6 separate regions of the Homo sapiens genome follow, and all the other regions are linked to region 1. Evidence: promoter capture Hi-C in 16 types of primary human blood cells and fetal thymus (Javierre and others, 2016). All regions are on one chromosome and are shown on one strand. Each heading gives the region's core, a stretch centred on a gene start or on the middle of the fragment in contact. The rest is flanking DNA. Distances are from core to core; before and after follow the strand shown. Region 1 holds the start of YPEL5 (yippee like 5). Region 2 has its middle 86 kb from the start of XDH. Region 3 holds the start of SPAST (spastin). Region 4 overlaps EHD3 (EH domain containing 3). Region 5 has its middle 42 kb from the start of EHD3. Region 6 has its middle 4.3 kb from the start of EHD3.

The links. Contacts are between HindIII fragments. The CHiCAGO score rates a contact against its expected background, and 5 or more counts as called.
Region 2: a fragment that was not itself captured here is called in contact with the fragment with the promoter of YPEL5 in region 1 in 3 of 17 cell types (fetal thymus, naive B cells and total B cells); the score reaches 7.4 in fetal thymus.
Region 3: the fragment with the promoter of SPAST here is called in contact with the fragment with the promoter of YPEL5 in region 1 in 2 of 17 cell types (neutrophils and non-activated CD4 T cells); the score reaches 9.6 in neutrophils.
Region 4: a contact is called between a fragment that was not itself captured here and the fragment with the promoter of YPEL5 in region 1, in 1 of 17 cell types (total B cells). The highest score is 5.3, in total B cells.
Region 5: a fragment that was not itself captured here is called in contact with the fragment with the promoter of YPEL5 in region 1 in 1 of 17 cell types (total B cells); the score reaches 6.0 in total B cells.
Region 6: a contact is called between a fragment that was not itself captured here and the fragment with the promoter of YPEL5 in region 1, in 10 of 17 cell types (total B cells, naive B cells, non-activated CD4 T cells and 7 more). The highest score is 12.4, in total B cells.

What each region holds. Positions count from the first base shown.
Region 1 is chr2:30,145,554-30,148,551 of GRCh38, reverse strand. It overlaps YPEL5 (yippee like 5), which reads right to left and starts at 1,545. Exons shown (of 3, transcript NM_016061.3): 1 at 1,490-1,545. RefSeq lists silencers at 432-871, 1,162-1,331, 1,362-1,941. The HindIII fragment of the contact is 10,963 bases long and covers 1-2,998 here.
Region 2 is chr2:31,327,010-31,329,709 of GRCh38, reverse strand. No RefSeq gene overlaps it. Among named protein-coding and RNA genes, the nearest start is that of XDH, 86 kb to the left of the region's middle. The HindIII fragment of the contact is 2,930 bases long and covers 1-2,700 here.
Region 3 is chr2:32,062,040-32,064,862 of GRCh38, reverse strand. SPAST (spastin) reads right to left here and starts at 1,307. Exons shown (of 17, transcript NM_014946.4): 1 at 617-1,307. The coding sequence starts at 1,031. RefSeq lists silencers at 444-573, 604-1,023, 1,084-1,223 and enhancers at 595-1,395, 1,444-1,513. The HindIII fragment of the contact is 15,667 bases long and covers 1-2,823 here.
Region 4 is chr2:31,255,431-31,258,356 of GRCh38, reverse strand. The region is part of intron 3 of EHD3 (EH domain containing 3); the gene reads right to left. LOC124905983 (a long non-coding RNA gene) reads left to right here. Exons shown (of 4, transcript XR_007086270.1): 2 at 510-701. Among named protein-coding and RNA genes, the nearest start is that of EHD3, 23 kb to the right of the region's middle. RefSeq lists enhancers at 1,188-1,237, 1,323-2,150. The HindIII fragment of the contact is 2,535 bases long and covers 74-2,608 here.
Region 5 is chr2:31,274,998-31,277,710 of GRCh38, reverse strand. No RefSeq gene overlaps it. Among named protein-coding and RNA genes, the nearest start is that of EHD3, 42 kb to the right of the region's middle. The HindIII fragment of the contact is 2,798 bases long and covers 1-2,713 here.
Region 6 is chr2:31,228,458-31,231,157 of GRCh38, reverse strand. It overlaps a transcript of CAPN14 not described here. Among named protein-coding and RNA genes, the nearest start is that of EHD3, 4.3 kb to the left of the region's middle. The HindIII fragment of the contact is 2,580 bases long and covers 1-2,544 here.

The DNA of each region.
Region 1 (2,998 bases), core at 296-2,795:
TACTTCTTACCTAACCCAGTACAAGTATGCGATAAACTTTCAGGAAACGAATTCACCAAAGCACTTCACTTCTGGCATGAATATGTACCCTGGGAACACCACAGGCCTTTTGGTTCCTCTTTGGTGGAATGCAGCTGCGACGCTCTATATGTGGCTATGCAAAGTTAGCTAATATCCTACTCCTCCCAGTTTCTTCACCACCAAGTCTACTAATTTTCCAAAAACACAAGGTTAGCCCGAAGTTACTTCAGGTTTTCCATCTGTCAAGACGACGTAGAATAAAAATCCTCAGATTACCAACAGATCTCTGTAAACAGAAAAAGTTTAAAAATAAATGAGCTGTACAGCTTCCCAGACTCTCCCTTGAAAGGGAGATTAGTTGGTATCAGGATTAAACAGATCTTTGTAGTATTTCAATTTCCCACTCCCGCTGATCCGGACACTCATTTGTCCCATCTACCTGCAGAGAAGGTACAGGAAAGGGGTTGCAAGGGCACGCCCACCCTCCCGACTGCAAGCGGAGGGAAGGCCGCAGCCCGAAGCTGGCGGAGCTGGGCCGGCCCGGGCGACCCCCGGGTGGGCTCACCCGGCAGCCGCAGTGGGGCCCGCGAGCGCCCCCGCCGGCCCAGCTGATGGAGGCCACGTGACGCCAGCCGGCCAATCGGGAGGGACCGGGGCGGCAGAGCGCGGCGGCGGCGGTGGCGGCGGGGCCTCCCTCGGCACAACAAACACGAGCAGGAAACAGCTGAGCGGGTGGCCGGGGGGCTCTCTTGGTCCCGACACCCGGCGGGCTGCCCAACCGTCACCCTGCGCTGTCAGTCCCGGGTCCTCTGGGCAGGAGGGCGGGGGAGGCGGACGTTCATGGGGGGGAGGGGGCAAAGGGAGACACCGCCCCAGCCCGGTGGCTGGGCCGCTTGGGCCGGGCGTGGGCCCTGCTCAGGACGGTTCACGCCGTGCGGTCATCGCGGCCCAAACAACTCGGTCAAGTTCCGACTTGGATTCGGGGCGGAGACCGGGCGCGCCCCCGACTATGCGACGGGTGGGGGCGGGGCAGCCGCGGCGCGGCGCGGCGGGTTGGGGGTCGCGGCCAGACCGTCCGCCCAGGGGGCGCCGTGGGCCTCGGCGGCGGGCCTCGGAGGACGCGACGGGGAAACGGGGCGGAGGCGCGGGCGCCGCGCGGAGGGGTTGCGGCTGTTGTCGCACCGGTCGCCCGGCTGCGCGGCGGGGGCGGGCCGACGGCGGCCGCCGCGCCAGGCCTCACAAAGAGCAAACAGCCCCGCGCGTCCGCCCGCGGTCCCAGCGCCGGGGCCCACCCTGAAGGATCTGGGGCGGCCGCTCTGGGACCCCGGGAAGAGCGCGGCGAGGAAGAGGCACTTCCTGCCTGGGCCCCCCACCCTGGGCCGATTCCCGAGTGCCTCGAAGCCGCCCGACCCGAACGGGCGCCTCAGTCCCCACCGGCCCCGAGTCCAGCCCCTCCCGCGGGACTCACCCTGAGCGGCGGTGAGATCCGCGGCTGCCAGCGGCTTGTCGCTCTTCAGCTGGTATGAAGCCCCTCGGCCACCCGAGTCTCCAGGTTTAGTCAGGCCCTGGCCTTGGCCCCGCCTCTCCCTGGTTGGGCCTCAACGTCAGTCACCCGGCGTGGCTCCGCCCCCCCGCAGTCAGCTCTCCCGGTTGGCCCAGAACGCCCTTTATTTCTAGGCCCCGCCCCTGTCCTCGGCCTCCTGCCTTTTTCGCGGGGCCCCGCCCCTTCTCTGGCTCACCCTCCCCCACTCCCGCACCCCTCCGCTTCGCGGCCCACCCCTCTCAGAAGCCGCAGACCCAGGGCAGGCTTGCGACAGCTCGCCCCGCCCCTGACCCAGCACCTCGGACTCGTACAGCCAATCAAAGAGGCTAACTCTGCCCCTTCTCTCGAGGCGGCCAATGTAGTCAGTCTGGGGACCCACCTCCCCCTTTCAGCTGAGCGCACACAACACAGCATCCACGTGAGTCAGCTTCTTAAAGGCGAAGGCTTGGCCTGTCTAATTGCGGCAGCTGCGAGACATCGCACGTCATTAGCGTCACCAGGTAGCGGCTGGAGCCGAGCTTCCTGATACCTAGTGAGCCGCGGTGATGACAAATGAAAACAATAAGCTGTTTCCTAGACAAACAGCTGCCTAGGTAACTAAAGTGCACCGTGTAATTCGTTTCTTGGAGGCCGTTTCCCCGACCACCCCTGGTAGAGGGCTGCCTTTTGCTTTCAAACCCCTAGCCCTCGAGTCTAAGCGCATAGGCACTCCTAAGAAACATCTGTGGATACAGGATTTTTCAACTGCGCTTGACTTTATTTACAACTCATTTGAATGTTTTTTCTGGGTAGTGGAAATGATTCTCAAAAAGATGAAGAAATTCAGTCTTCTATATGGCGAATTTCTGCCTCAGAGAGTGAGATTTGTTCATTGCAAAGAGCAGCTGTTCCCTTAACCCTTATCAATGCTTAAGATGGAAGATGTTGCTTCTCATTCCATTAGAGTTGCCCAGGTACTTACATCTCTGTTAGCTGACTTTCGGGATAAAACCAAAATATTTGATGACGCATACCTCTCAGATTAAAAATGTAGGTTAGCATTTGGGGCTAGTTTGCAACATGTTTAAAGTCATTATTGGTGGAAGAGAAGCTGCTAAGCAAATTCTAGCACTTGACTCCCGCTCATCCCCAAATCCACAAGTATTTTCATTTAGTTCGTCTGAAGTTTACCTGAGCATCAAAGGCAAAAGGACTAGTTATCTTTTAATAAGTGAGTTTTCCAGGAGATAAGTTTTTTTGTTTGTTTGTTTCAGACGGAGTCTTGCTCTGTCGCCCAGGCTCGAGTGCAGTGGCATGATCTTGGCTCACTGCAACCTCCGCCTCCCGGGTTCAAGCAATTCTCCTGCCTCTGCCTCCTGAGTAGCTGGAATTACAGGCGCACACCACCACGCCCGGCTAATTTTTGTATTTTTAGTAGAGACGGGGTTTCACCAT
Region 2 (2,700 bases), core at 201-2,700, 1.2 Mb before region 1:
GGGTGGTGCTGGCTCTTAATTTTTTGCATTACACACTTCAGTTGGCTTCTAGCCCTGGAGAGAACACACACACACTCACACACCCATCACAACCATCTCTCTACCTGTTCACTCTCTTCCATCCCTCCATCTTGGTCTCAGAATCCAGGGGAAAGGACATGCCTGGCTCATTGTCAGTAGAAAAGCACCTGCCTTAGGAATCAGACTCCCTGCTTCTCTTTCCAAACCCAGAACAGTCACTTCAGAGTGGGAGGCAGCTCCAGAAGGCGAGGGGGTTGGGAGGCATTGTTGATAATGGCCCAAAGGTCATTTCCTCCACACCCCAGGGAGTCCTGATTGTTGCTTAATGATAAGCCTTTCCCAGGGTACAGAATGTATGGCAGAATGTATGGGGTCTTGGACCCTTTCTCCATCCTCCTGAGAGCCATCAGTCTTATCAAGTGAAAGTATTCTTTGTCTTCTTGGAGTGGGCCAAGGGCTTCCTGCCAGGACCCTGTGTACTTTATAGGCCTTTGTGGATTGGTGACAATGGTCCCGTGGTGGTTCTGTAGTAGTGTGGAGCTCTGGGCTCTCCTATGCACTACTTTAATCTGGAAACACCCCCCATTCTCCATCCCCACTGCTGGGGGCCAGGAGTGCTGTGCCTCTGGGAGATGTGGCTGTAGTAAAGTTGTTGGTAATTTGTGGCCTTCAGCTGATGAGGAGATTGGCTTGCAAGGCACTCGGTATGCATGTTCCTAAGTCCCAAAATCAGGTTTTCTCCTTCCTCAACTATATATGCCATGTGTTCCTTTTAAAAGGCCAGATGCTGGGCTAAGCTAGGGGCTCAAGTGTAAAGAGCAAGGGCTGCCAGCAAACGCTCTACTCAGCTCCAGTATTTTCATAAGTTCTCTTCTCTTGGGAACATTACTCACCCTCTGAGCCTCAGTTTCCTCATTTGTAAGTGGAGGAGAATAAGACCTGTTGTCAGTGTGGTGAAGTTAAATGACATAGTCAATGAAAGGCACCCAGCACAGCCTGGGCAACATAGTGAGACCTCGTCTCTAAAAAAATTTTTAATTAGCCGTGTTCGGTGGTGTGCACCTGTAGTCCTAGCTCCTTGGGATGCTGAGGCGGGAGGATTTCTTGAGCCCAGGTGTTTGAGGCTGCAGTGCACCTCAAATCAGACCACTGCACTTCAGCCTAGGTAACAGAGAGCGACTGTCTCAAAAGGAAGAAAGAAAATAAAAGAAAACAAAGACACTCAGCACAGCATCTGACACCTGTTGTTAGGTGCTTAATAAATGTCAATACCTTGCTGTTCCAAGATTCTCCAAGCCTATGTACAACAATTTTGTAAATTTAGTGTCCAAACATGTTTATGCTATACACTTGTAGTAGACACTATTGCAAATCCTTTTCCTTGGCTGGGAGTTACTAGTTCCTCTAAATGTTGGCAGCTGACAGTACACATCTGCCTATTATCTTGAGAATTGCCCTCAGCTAAAACAGAAGTCCCCTCATCTGGGAGTTTATACCATCTTTTAAGGCTTTGCTTCTTGGGAACCACCCTATGACAGGATATATACCATTTTCTACTTGCATAACTTACTAACAAATCACATTCTTCCCTCCCTACTCTCTGGGTATTGTATGGCTGGGAATCCTCACTCTGCTATAATGTAATATGTGGCTGGGAATTCCCAATCTATTGGGAGCTGAGACCCAGTGTAGTGAGGTAAAGTGTGTGTGCTTGGTTGATCTTGACAATACGTTCAATTTCTCCGGAGCCTCAATCATTTTCCATAGCCACTTGCCCCATTCTCACAGTAGATAACATCCCTGGTCAAAGCATTATCAGTTTCCTCTATTGCTCCATCAAATGCTCCTCTTTTCTTGAGATAGCAATTGAGTAGCCACACACATGACCTGAGCTGTCTGCCTGGCCATTGTTGGCTCTTCATACTTTGTTTACCTAAGCTCTGAGAAAACTATGTGTATTGCTCAAAGGATTGCATAACATTTTAGAGTTGGAAGGGACAATCCCCAGTGGTCCTCAACTGGGGGTGATTTTACCTTTAGGGAACATTAGGCAATGTCTGGAAATCTCTTTGGTTGCTGCAACTCAGGGAGGGGTGGTGGCTCCTGGAATCAGGCAGGTAGAGTGCAGGGATGCCGCTAAACATCTTATATTGCACAGGGCAGCCCACTGCAACAAAGAATTATTCAGCCCAAAATGTCAGTAGAACTGAGGTGGAGAAAGCTGAGTCTAGCCTACCACCTGGATGGTGGGGAGGAGGCAACGGAGGATTCTGGAGGTGGCTGTGGCAGAATTAAAAGCCAAGTCTCCTTAGCTATTCTTTCTACTGATTTAGTTGTTTCATTACGATAACGTCGGTCCTTTGTAGTAAGTGTGCGATAGCAATCTCTCTACAAAATAGAAATTTTCTAGCGCAAGAACGTACCAAGAAATTCTTATTTGTAAATGGACACTCATACGGTATCCATTCCAGCATAGTGAATTACCCTCCCTGCAAAAGAATCATAAATGATGATATTTAACTTTGATATTTGCTTCTAATCCCTTATCAGAGCACATAATTATGTGTTTTGTTTGAACTATAGTTCCTTAACATCGTTCTATGTATTGGGGAAATTATACCCAGGAGTGGACTATCTGGTTTGTTAGTCATGTTTCAAATGTGTTTACAACCAGGTACA
Region 3 (2,823 bases), core at 58-2,557, 1.9 Mb before region 1:
TAATTAAAATCAAAGCAACAGGGGGAAAAGTTTTATGCTAAATATAACTTCATTGAAAAAGTATTCAGGAATCGTTGTACTGATAAAATGATTATCTTGATTAAAATGATGCAAATTCAACTGCAGTCATATGCAGCTATTTCTTTCAAAATTGTCACCATTTGTTCTTTTTTTCTGACACTACAATACTCTGCTTTCATTAAAAGCCAGTAAGGCGGCACTGCTTCTTCAATATCAAAACCTTTTGGAAACCTTGGTTCAGAGGAAGCTGCACACTCTTCACAGTGCTAGAAAGGATCAGTGTGGTCACTCTAGGACAAATGTCACTGTCATCAACACGTCTGGGTGTCTCATAGTGACCTGGGTCATGCAGAAGTGTGGGGGAAGGCTGGTGTCTGAAACAAAGTCGACAGCTACAGTGCCCTGAAAGGGGAGAGGTTTTAAGAATACTAGAAGATGAGGCTCCGACCTACGGGAAAGCAGTCTCCCGGGGCATATCAATTCCGGGGGTGCACCGTCCCCTCCCGCAGAAAAGGGACGCAGGTGTTGCCCTCCCCCGGCGACCCCACCGCCTTCTTCCCGGCGCCGCCGCCCCCTCCCCCAGCCCCCTAGTTACCTTTCTCATCCTCATCGATGCGCAGGGCAATGGAGATGTACTCGAAGGCCTGTTTGTGGAAGACTCGGACGCGCTCGGCCTCGCCGCCCGGCACCGGCGCCGGGGCCGAGGCCGAGGCAGGTGCTGGCGCGGCCCCGGAGCTCCTCTTGGCTGCCATGAGGGCGCGGGAGAAGCGCTGGCAGAGCCACACGAAGAGGAGCCCCAGGTGGAAGGCGACCAAACGCAGCAGCGCGAAGCCTACAAACAGCGGGTAGGAGAAATAGTACAGGTTCCGCTTATGCGGCGACTCGGGCGGAGGGGCCGGCCCGGCGGCGGGAGGGGCGGGGGCCAGGCAAGGGGGCGGAGGCCTGGGAGGCACCGGGTTGCTGGCGCCGCCGGAGCCTTTCTTCTTCCCTCGTCCACCCGGAGAATTCATTCACAGCTCTCACTGCCGCCGCCGCCATAACCCGCCTCCCGCAGACCGACGGGAACCAAGCGACGGCGGCAGCCACTGCTACGGCGGGGGCCACAGACCCCCGTGTGCCCGCCGGTCTCAGGAGCTCCGCACTGCCGCACGCTGCCCGCCGGCCCCGCCCCTTTCTCCTTCCTCGGCCAGGAGCACAACCCCTTCTCCTCCTGCAGTCGGTGGCTCGGGCCCCTCCCTTCCTGTCGCTGTCCTCTCCGCCGCCTGGTGGCTCCCAGCGGCGGCCGCGCACGCGCACGTCTTCCCGTGTTTTTCTCCGGCGCGCGCGCGCACGGCGCGTCTTTGTTGACCGGGGCCCCTGTACGCGTGTGCGGCCCCCGCCTCTCGGCTTTCCCACTCAACTACAGTTCCCAATGTGCAGTTCGGCTCACGTCGGCAGCCCTGGAGAGCTCCTGCCAGGAAGCCTTCGTAATCGATCCACGGAAGGGGGAATTGCGGCTTGGGGTCGCTCTGCTGGTTCGCTAGGCTCCTCTCTCAGTGTCGTCGTTTTCTTAGATTTCTTTCATCTTTTTCTGCCAGGCGACCTAAGTCTTCTCCGAAGGATAATTGGCCCATCTCAGAAGCAATGGATATCAATCTGGGAATTAAATTAGCCGGGCGTGGGGGCGCGCGCCTGTAGTCCCAGCTGGTTGGAAGGCTAAGGCCGGAGAATCGCTTGAACTCGGGAGGCAGAGGCTGCAAGTGAGCTGAGATCGCGCCACTGCACTCCAGCCTGGGCGACAGAGCGAGACTCCGTCTCCAGAAAAAATAAAATAAAAATTTAAAATCTGGGAATTATTTGAGAGGAAAGCAATTGTGAAGATAAGAAACTTCAGGTCACTGCAAACAACAGCAACAAAAATGTTAGCTCAGTGTGATGAGATCAACTAACCCAGGGGTTTAACTAAATTAGTGCATATTTAGATGTCTAATATGAAAGATAATTTATTTGAATAAGGGAAATCTTAGGTTTTGCATAGTTACCATCCCATAGTTTACTGAAGAATCTACACTTTTTTTTTAATCTACTCAGCATCCCTTCCTTTGGGAAACTACCTGCTTGTCTCTGCTCCCTGTATTCTAATGAGCTGCAAGCACAGAACCCAGACCGCAAAGGCGGAAGCAAACACTAGGTCAGTCAGATTCTCCTGGGACCTGGAATCTTGGCTGGAGACCCACCGAATAGAAAGTAACTGGAAACGAGTGCTCTTAAGAGCGGGTTTATCAATGCATCACATTGAGCTCCCCCAGAGCTGCTGGGTTCCTGACTGGTCACTTGGTTATGTAATCTATCCAATACACTAATCAGTCTGTTTCTCTGTTTCTCTCTTCCTCTCTCCTTTCCCCCTTCCTTCCTTTCGTCTTTTCCTCTCTCTCCCTCTCTCTCTATCTCCACGTCTTTTTTCTCTTCTCTTTCTCTTTTTACTTGAGTTAGCCATAATTATTTCTTGTTTCCTAAAACTAAGGAAGCCAAACTGATAAAAAGACTCCGTTATTTACAATGTGAGGTTTCCAAATGCCCCATGAGAGCTTCCAGCTTCCAAGAATCTCCACATTCTGCCACAGCTTTATTTTTTTATTTTTTGGACAGGGTTTCACTCCATTGCCCAGGCTGGAGTGCAGTGGCGCAAACAACATGACTCACTGCAACCTCCACCTCCCTGGCTCAGGTGATCCTTCCACCTCAGCCTCCCGAGTAGCTGGGATCACAGGCACACGCCACTGGGCCCGACTAATTTTTGTATTCTTTATAGAGCCAGGGTTT
Region 4 (2,926 bases), core at 92-2,591, 1.1 Mb before region 1:
ACGTGTGGAGGCACTGCCACAGGGGGTAGGGGGATGGGATCAGACGGTCGGGAAAACTTGCTGCCCTAAAGCTTCCTGGAGGACCCCTGTAATGTTTCCCTGGTGGCTGTAAGAGAATTCTAACAAACAAAGGAAGGTCAAACCCTCCTTTGGTTACCCGGATGCCAGTACTACTCCATTTTCAGCTCCTCTGTCTTTGGTAAATGAAGTGCTTCCAAGCATTCCCATTGCCATGTGATTTTCTCCAAGATCTGTCAGCTGCTCAATGAATATACAGCTCAACTAACACCTGAGCCTTCTCCCCCTGCTCCTGTGGCGTAGACCTATGAGGCTACGAGGAGCTTAGCCATCAATGGTCCAACTTCCTGATTTACAGATAGGGAAACTGAGGCTCAGGAAGGGGCAGAGCTGGCCCAGTATCTCCAGGTGCCATCCTGAGGATAGTTCCTGATGGGTGCGTCATCGAGGGCCTGGTGTGAACTAGATTTTGCCTTCTCTTTTGAACACAGGTGTCCTGTCTCGGCTCAGAGACAAGGCCCAGGAAAGTGCTTCAGAGGCTGCTCTGCCCAGTGGGCAGGGGCATCATCAACCCTCCCTCGGAGATGTTCACGCAAACTCTAGGAGTTAAGTGACTCAGCCAATACCACCCATGAGACACGACCCCTAGCCTCCAACTCGAAGTTCAGTGCTTGCTGCAGACGGTAAGATGTTCATGTCATTATCTCATGTCACCCTCACGACACGCTCTGAGGCAGGCAGCGCGAGGAGTATCGTTCTCACTTCCAGGGGAGGAAACTGAGGTTCAGAGAGGAGAGAGTCAAACAGTTGGCAAGTCGTGAGGCCAGATGACCCAGCTGTCAGCCATCCAGCCGTTCTGCACCTGGCCGCTCCCTGCCTCCCTCCCTCCCTCCCTGGCACGCAGGCACAGCCAGCTCCTCACTGGAGCCCGGGAAGCCTAAGCATTCCCACTTCAGGTGAAGCCTGCAGCCCGCACTACTCCCCTCCTTCCTACATCCCTCTGTCCATCCTTCCCTTCCCAGGGATGGCTCCAGCCTATTTTTATCTTCCCTTCAGCACAGCGCATGGCAAGGCTGCTGTCACCTCCCAAAGGCAGTCCCTCAGAGCTGTGGGTAGGGAGGGGCCAGAGGGCTAAGAAAATCCCCAACCCCCACCTCTGCAAACAGCTCACAGCAGGAGGGCAGTAGGGACCCTCCACAACTCCCTGCCAGGCCTCTGGCCTTCTGCTGCTCCTTATTCCCCAATCTGGATTTTAGCTGTGCCAGTGCAGGCCACAGGAGGGGCTGCTGGGAGGACCAAGACTGGGCTGCAGCTCCCTCTCACCTGTCCAGCAAATCTCAGCCCCAATATATTGGCTCAATGGCTCAGAACAGGCTAAGGCAGCCAGGGCAGCCAGTGTTGAGTCCTATGCTGACAAGGTAATGGAGGTTTATAGAGGGTGAGAGAAAGGCCCAAGGCCATGCAATGCTGGGGGTCAGAGCCAAGACCTGAACTCCAAACTCAACTCTTGCACTGTAGCCACGCCTCCACCAGGCTGGGGAAAACAAAGACACCAGAGAAGCTGCAGAGAAGGGAAGAGGCTCTGTCCCTGCAACTTGCTGCAATCCCTGATGACACCAGCGATGTAAGAGAAGGCTGTGTCTGCAAAGGCTGAGGGGCAGCAATATGTCCATGCTGCCAGAACAGGATAGACCCCTGCCTATCCCTGTCCCTGCCCTCAGTGGTCTTGTAGCATCATGCACGCTCCTGTTCTGCTCTTCAGCTCACTGAAATCATCCTCGGTGCACTGGGAGCTGGACAGGGCAGGGGCAGCACCTCACCCTTCTGGGCTTCCCCTGCACCCAGCACGGTGTGTGGCACACAGCAGGTGCACTATCAGTATTTGCTGAACGGAAGTGAAACGTGGAAAACGTGGAAACCTGTTCCACGTTTGGCATCTGGGAGACAGTAAATGAGTAATCTCTGGGCCTCAGTTTTATGGTTGAGGAATCAGTGACTCAGTCGTAGGGTTATTGTGAGGATCTAAACAAATCAGAGGATGCAGGTGAAACTGCTGAGCTGTGACCTTGGCTGTTCTCATTGCCCTGCTGTTTTTTGTAAAGCACTCCTTTTAAGCCCTAGTTTCTATGAGATGGGATGTGCTCTGTAGGAGTCACCAGAGGAGCACTGGCCTGGGTGAGTCCACCTCTCGTTTCCGCTTAGCCACTAACTTACTGTGTGTCCTTGGGCAAGAATCTCCCCTCTCTAGTCCTCTGTCTCTTTGCCTGTCAAATCAGGGGATTGAGCTGGACAACCTCCGAGCTTCCTTTCTCGGTTCACAATTCTCTGCATCTGAGACCAGAGGTGTGAGGGTGGGGAGTACAACAGGATGGATGGAGATTAGCTACAAGGGACCCTTTGCAGGCACAGCAAGAGAGAGAGGCTGCAGGCTGCTGTCTTACAGGCCTCGGGGATGCCTGTGTGAAGTCTGCCTCTGCCTGAGGACAGGCCAAGGGCTTCTGGGAACTCTTTCCGTGATTTTATAAGCAGAGGCCTCCTATTTGCTCTGGAAAGCTGCTATCCAATTACAGACTCAGTAATGCCAGAAGCTTCCAGCCAGGTGTGGCTGTGAAGACCATGACCATCAAGCAATGACTCCATGGGTTGCTCTGAAGCTCGACTTCCCTGCTCCTGGCTAACCCCGAGGCTGTGTCATCTGTAGGGTGGATATTTAGTTGTTCACTTGGCCTGGACTTAGGTGCAGATCTAGGAATGGCGGTATCTCAAAGGTATGGACTGGACCCAGTAAGAAAAAGGGTATGGTATAGGATTAGCTTTCTCATTTATTTGGCAAATCTGAACCTCAATTTTCTCAGCTGCAAAATAGGGATAACAAATGACTGAATGAGGGGTCTGTGGTAGAGCTGAA
Region 5 (2,713 bases), core at 93-2,592, 1.1 Mb before region 1:
GCTCACAGGAAAGGAAACCAAGGGCTCCCCAGATGAGCAGATAATTAATAAAATAATCAGGCCCCAAACCCCAGCTCAAAACATGAAACTCTCACCATGATATCCAGCAGTCATTGATTTTATTATTTTTTAATTTTATTTTGATGGGAAAGAAGGAGCCAGAGTGCCCAACTCCAGTGACCCAGAGCTCATGCCAGACAGTATTTCCTTTACTGCTACATATAGACATTGAAGTCCACCTGTACAGACAGAAAGGACCATGATTTCTTTCTTTTTTTAATTAATAAACATAATTTAAAAAAAAAATTTTTTTTTTTGAGACTGAGTCTTGCTGTTGTCGGCCCAGGCTGGAGTGCAATGGCACGATTTCAGCTCACTGCAACCTCTGCCTCCTAAGTTCCAGCAATTCTCCTGCCCCAGCCTCCCAAGTAGCTGAGATTACAGGCACCTGCCACCATGCCCTGCTGATTTTTGTACTTTTAGTAGTGGCGGGGTTTCACCATGTTGGCCAGGCTGGTCTGGAACTCTTGACCTCAGGTGATCCCCCTGCCTCAGCCTCCCAAAGTGCTGGGATTACAGGCGTGAGCCACCACACCTGGCCAACAAACATTACTTTTTAAAGCAATTTTAGGTTCACAGCAAAGTTGAACAGAAAGTACAGTGAGTTCCCATATATCCCTTGTACCCCACCCCACACAACTTTCCTCATTATCAACATCCCGCTCCAGAAAGCACATTTGTTGCAATAGAATCTACACTAACACATCACTGTCACCCAAAGCCACAGTTTACCCTAGGGTTCACTCTTAGTGTTGTACATTCTGTGGGTTTTGACAAATATATAATGACTAACTGCTTTTCAGATGCAATTCTTTGTGCATGTTTCAAAGGCATAATATTATAACGACTAGACAGTCATTGCTGGAAGATACTGCATCCAGAAGTAATTGGTCTGGACATGTGAGTGGCCAAGGACCGTCACAAGGAGACAGAACTTCATCAACTTCATCAGTGACTGTCTGAGATTTGGGGGGACATGATGATTTCCTGGGTCGTGTTCGGCCCCCAGATCCTGAGGTCTTGTAGCCTAGCCGTACACAATCAGGAACAGATTTCCAAAGGCATATTCTGTGAGGGGTGTTGCTTACAAACTCCAACCGCTAGGATCCTCACCACGAAGACCAGTTGGAATTCACTATGGCCAGGTTGTTATTCATTTAAAAGTATCTGCAGAGAATTCTTTTTCTCAAGACCTTTCAAAGATGGTAAAGTGATTGAGGATATGGAATAAGATCTTTGTGGTTTACTAAACTGTTAACTATTTATAGCATGTATTTATGTATATAATAAACTATATATAAGATACAATATGGGTTTGATATTAAATTTGACTCCTCTTCACTGAGGAACTGGTGAAACCTTAGTCTTGAGGTGAATGCGCCACAGTTCCCCGGGTATGTGCCAGGAAAGACACTGACAACTGGTCATGGAAACCGCACTGCTCTCCGACTCCTATCACCAGCAGTGTTCCAGGCCTGCTGCCAATCCATAGTCACTTTGATTTTGAAACCAGCTGTGGGTATCCTGACCCCCCTCAGGTCTTTTGTTGTCATCGTTCTTTGTCATCCACTGATCTTTTGTATCCTACAAGTCTGCAATTGAAACTGTCTCATCCTTGTCATTAGGGCTTTTAGATTGAATGTTAGAAAGTCTCAGTTTTTATATGCAGTTGTTCTAGGCTGCTGCTTAAGGGCAGTATCTTCATCAATTTCATTTCTAAGGAAGTGTCCCTCCCTTGAATGCTTGCTTTATGTAAAGCTGGGGCTGGAGCTGCACCTCAGGAAAGGATGCCTTCTCTCTCATCTGCCAACTTCTGTCTCTCTGAGCTGTGGCATGTCCTATAACAGGCGAGATTTGCCTTTTCTAAGAAAATAAGAAACTACAGGTGGAACAATCTGAGCAATGGTCTCATTCTGCACAGAATGAGCCCTGTGGTCCTTCTCATCATTCTGTAAGAATGACCCTCTGGCTGGAGCTGCCCAAGGGGTAACTTTGGGGCCACTTTCACAGGAGAAGTCCTGCACATTCCATGGCTCCATCTTCTCCCAGTGATTCAAAGTGGCCTGCCAAGGATCTGGTGCCATGTGGTACATATTTTCTGGCAAGACCACTGCACCTATTCACATGGTCAGCTAAGTAATCCCCAGCAGGCCATCCTCTGATTGGATTTGTCATCGAGCAATTGATTGTTCATTAATGCCAACAAGTATTTATTGAGCATAGACAGTGTTGCAGGTCATGTTCCCTGGGAAGCAGACTCTGAGATGGAGTTCATCATGCAAAACGTTTATTAGAGAGTGGCTTTGGCTTTACACTTGGGAAGGAAGAGAAGCAAGATTGGGCAGAGGGAGCAGTTGGGCTCTAATGCAATCACAAAGGCTCAGCTGACCCTATAAGGAGTTCTGAAGCTGGGATGTCCCTTCAGAACTGTTCCAGGTTGGGGCAAGGGGGCCAGACCTTCATATGCCCTCATTGATCAGTCATTGGGTACAGCTGCCCCTGGGAATGGGGTGTGACATAAGCAGTGAGGAGGCAGAACTCTGCAGGTGAGGGAAATTTCTGGAGACAGCTTGAAGTGGAGCAGCTGGATGAATAAGTCCTTTACCACTCAAAGGGGAGCTAGGGAAGTAGCAGGGTATGTATTGCTCTGTGC
Region 6 (2,700 bases), core at 5-2,504, 1.1 Mb before region 1:
AAGGAGGAGGAGAGGGAGAGGTGGAAGGGGAAGGAGGGCAGAAAAAGGAGAACAGAGAAGAGAAGAGGACAACAGTAACATAGCAATGGCAACAACTAAGCGAAGAGGACTTGCCCTAGTGGACATTGTTATGGAGTTACAGTGGTTAATATGGTTTTGGCACAGAGACCAACAGAATAACAACACAGTAAATAGCCAGGAAATTTGGAAGCCTGACATATACAGAAGTTGCAATAGAGATTGCATATATATCACCACAAAGTCAGGAAGAGTTCTTTAAACAAGACGTCAGAAGCACAAACTGAAAAATGAAAAAAACTAAGTTTAGCACTAGCAAAATTTAAAACTTTCGTTCAACTAAAAATACAAAAGTGAGTGAAAAGATATTTCCTATACACAAAAACCCATGAAAGCACATCCAGAATATAGAACTAATGGCTGTGCATCGATAACAAAGACAAACATTCCAATAGAAAAAAACTTGGCAAGAGCTACAAAAATGTCTTTTACAAGAGGCTACATGAATGCCCTATAAACGCAAGAAAACATGTTGCATCTCATTAGTAATTAGAGAAATGCCAAACCACACTAACACTCCATACCCACCAAAATGGCAAGAATAAAAAGTTGGATGGTAGGGTTGGTGAGGATGTAGAGCAATGGGAGCTCTCATAAAATGCTGATGGGCGTGCAGGCTGGCACAAATACTTTGGGAAACAGTTTGGCATTGCTTAGTGAAGCTGAAGATGTGCATGTCCTATGACCTATCTCCTTCCATTCTATTTCAAGGCGTGATCTAGAGAAACTCTTGCACATGTGCATAGGGAGATAAGTCTTAAGAATGTTGATGGCAACATTATTTGTAGCAGCAAAAATTTATAAACAACTAAATGTCCTTCACCGAGTAAATGGATAAATGTGCCACATTCATATAAAATATATACCACACTGGGGTCTAGTTGAGGGTGGAGGGTGGGAGGAAGGAGAGGAACAAAAAGCAAGAACTATTGGTTACTAGACTTAACACCTGGGTGATGAAATCATCTGTACAACAGACCTCCATGACACTAGTTTACCTATATAACAAACCTTCACATGTACCCCCGAACCTAAAATGAAAGTTACAAAAAATACATACTCTACAGATGAGAAAAATGAGGGAAGTGGTGCTACCTATGCCAAAATATGGTGTTGAGTGAATAAAGCCAGAAGTAGGCTATTATGCATAGAATCATACAATTTCATTAATGTTTCAGGTCATGCAAAAACCACTATCTGTTGTTCATGGATGCATATGTGTGCATTGAAGTTTTTAAAAAGAGAAGCAAAGGAACATAAAACACTAGTCAGGAATGGGGTGTTCTCTGGGACAAAAAAGGGAAATGGAATTGGGGATGGGTACACAGGGAGCTTCAGCTATATACTATATATACACTGTTTTCTTTCTTTTTCTTTTCCTTTTTTTTTTTTTTTTTTTTGGACATAGGGTCTTGCTCTGTCACCCAGGCTGGAGTGCAGTGGCGCCATCTTGGCCTACTGCAACCTCTACTTCCTGGGTTCAAGAGATTCTCAGCCTGCCTCAGCCTCGCAAGTAGCTGGGACTACAGGCATGAGCCACCACACCTGGCTAATTTTTGTATTTTTAGTAGAGATGGAGTTTCACCATGTTGGCCAGGCTATTATTCCTCAAATTTGATAGTGAATACTTGGCTGTTCATTTCTTATTCCTTTTATCCTTTATTTTAAAAAAAATCTGGTCCTTGGATGCACAAAGTTGGAATTTTTTTCATAACTGTGGTTCAAGACAAACTACACCTGGCTCCTTTATTATATTTTTAAAAAACTTAACACATGTTTTTGTAATGGACCCTTGATGAACCTATCATTCAAACCAAGGACTAGAAAAATTAGCAGCAATTTACATCTACTTATGTGCTCCTCCCCATCCTGTCTCCTGCCCCTTCTCCTTCTTTCTAGAGGGGACCCCTATCCTGAATCTACTGTGTGTTGTCCCCTTGCTTTTTAATTACGGTTATACACAAATGCAAGCCAAAAGAACATATTGTTGAAGTTTAGTGTTTTTGGACTTTTTCTAAAAAGCATATCCTGCTGCATGTAATGCCCCTGGAACTCGACTTTTCTTGCATTCAACATTTGTTTTCAGCCCCATCTGGCTCCACAGGGCCCTCTCCCACCAGGTGTCTCTTCCAAACCCAGCACATGCCTCCTATTTCTGTCACCTGCCAGGTGCATGGGGGTTCCCAGTCAGACAACCTGCAGTAGATGGAGTCCTGGTGTCCCCGTGTCTTTGCTGTGTGAGCTTGGGGAAAGTGGCTTCACTCTCAAGCCTTAGCACCCTGGTCTCTGAAATAAAGATGGCAATAGCATTTTTTCAGGATTAAAGGGACCGTGCATGTAAAGTGCCATTGAAAGTGTTCAGTATGTATTAGTTCTTAATATTATAATGATTATTACTTTTATCCACTACATGGCACTGCCTTATATCCTATTTAAGAAGCTGTTTAATAAACTATTGAATAAGCTTAGTATTTAATAGCTGTAATATTTAATAAGCTATTTAATATGCTGGCACCTAATAAGTTAGTGAGCAACTTCTTTCACTTCATTTGTGTCTTAACTGAGGATGGCTCATTGACTCAAAGGAATATAATTTTTAGTAGTGATATCTGTGGTGTTTGC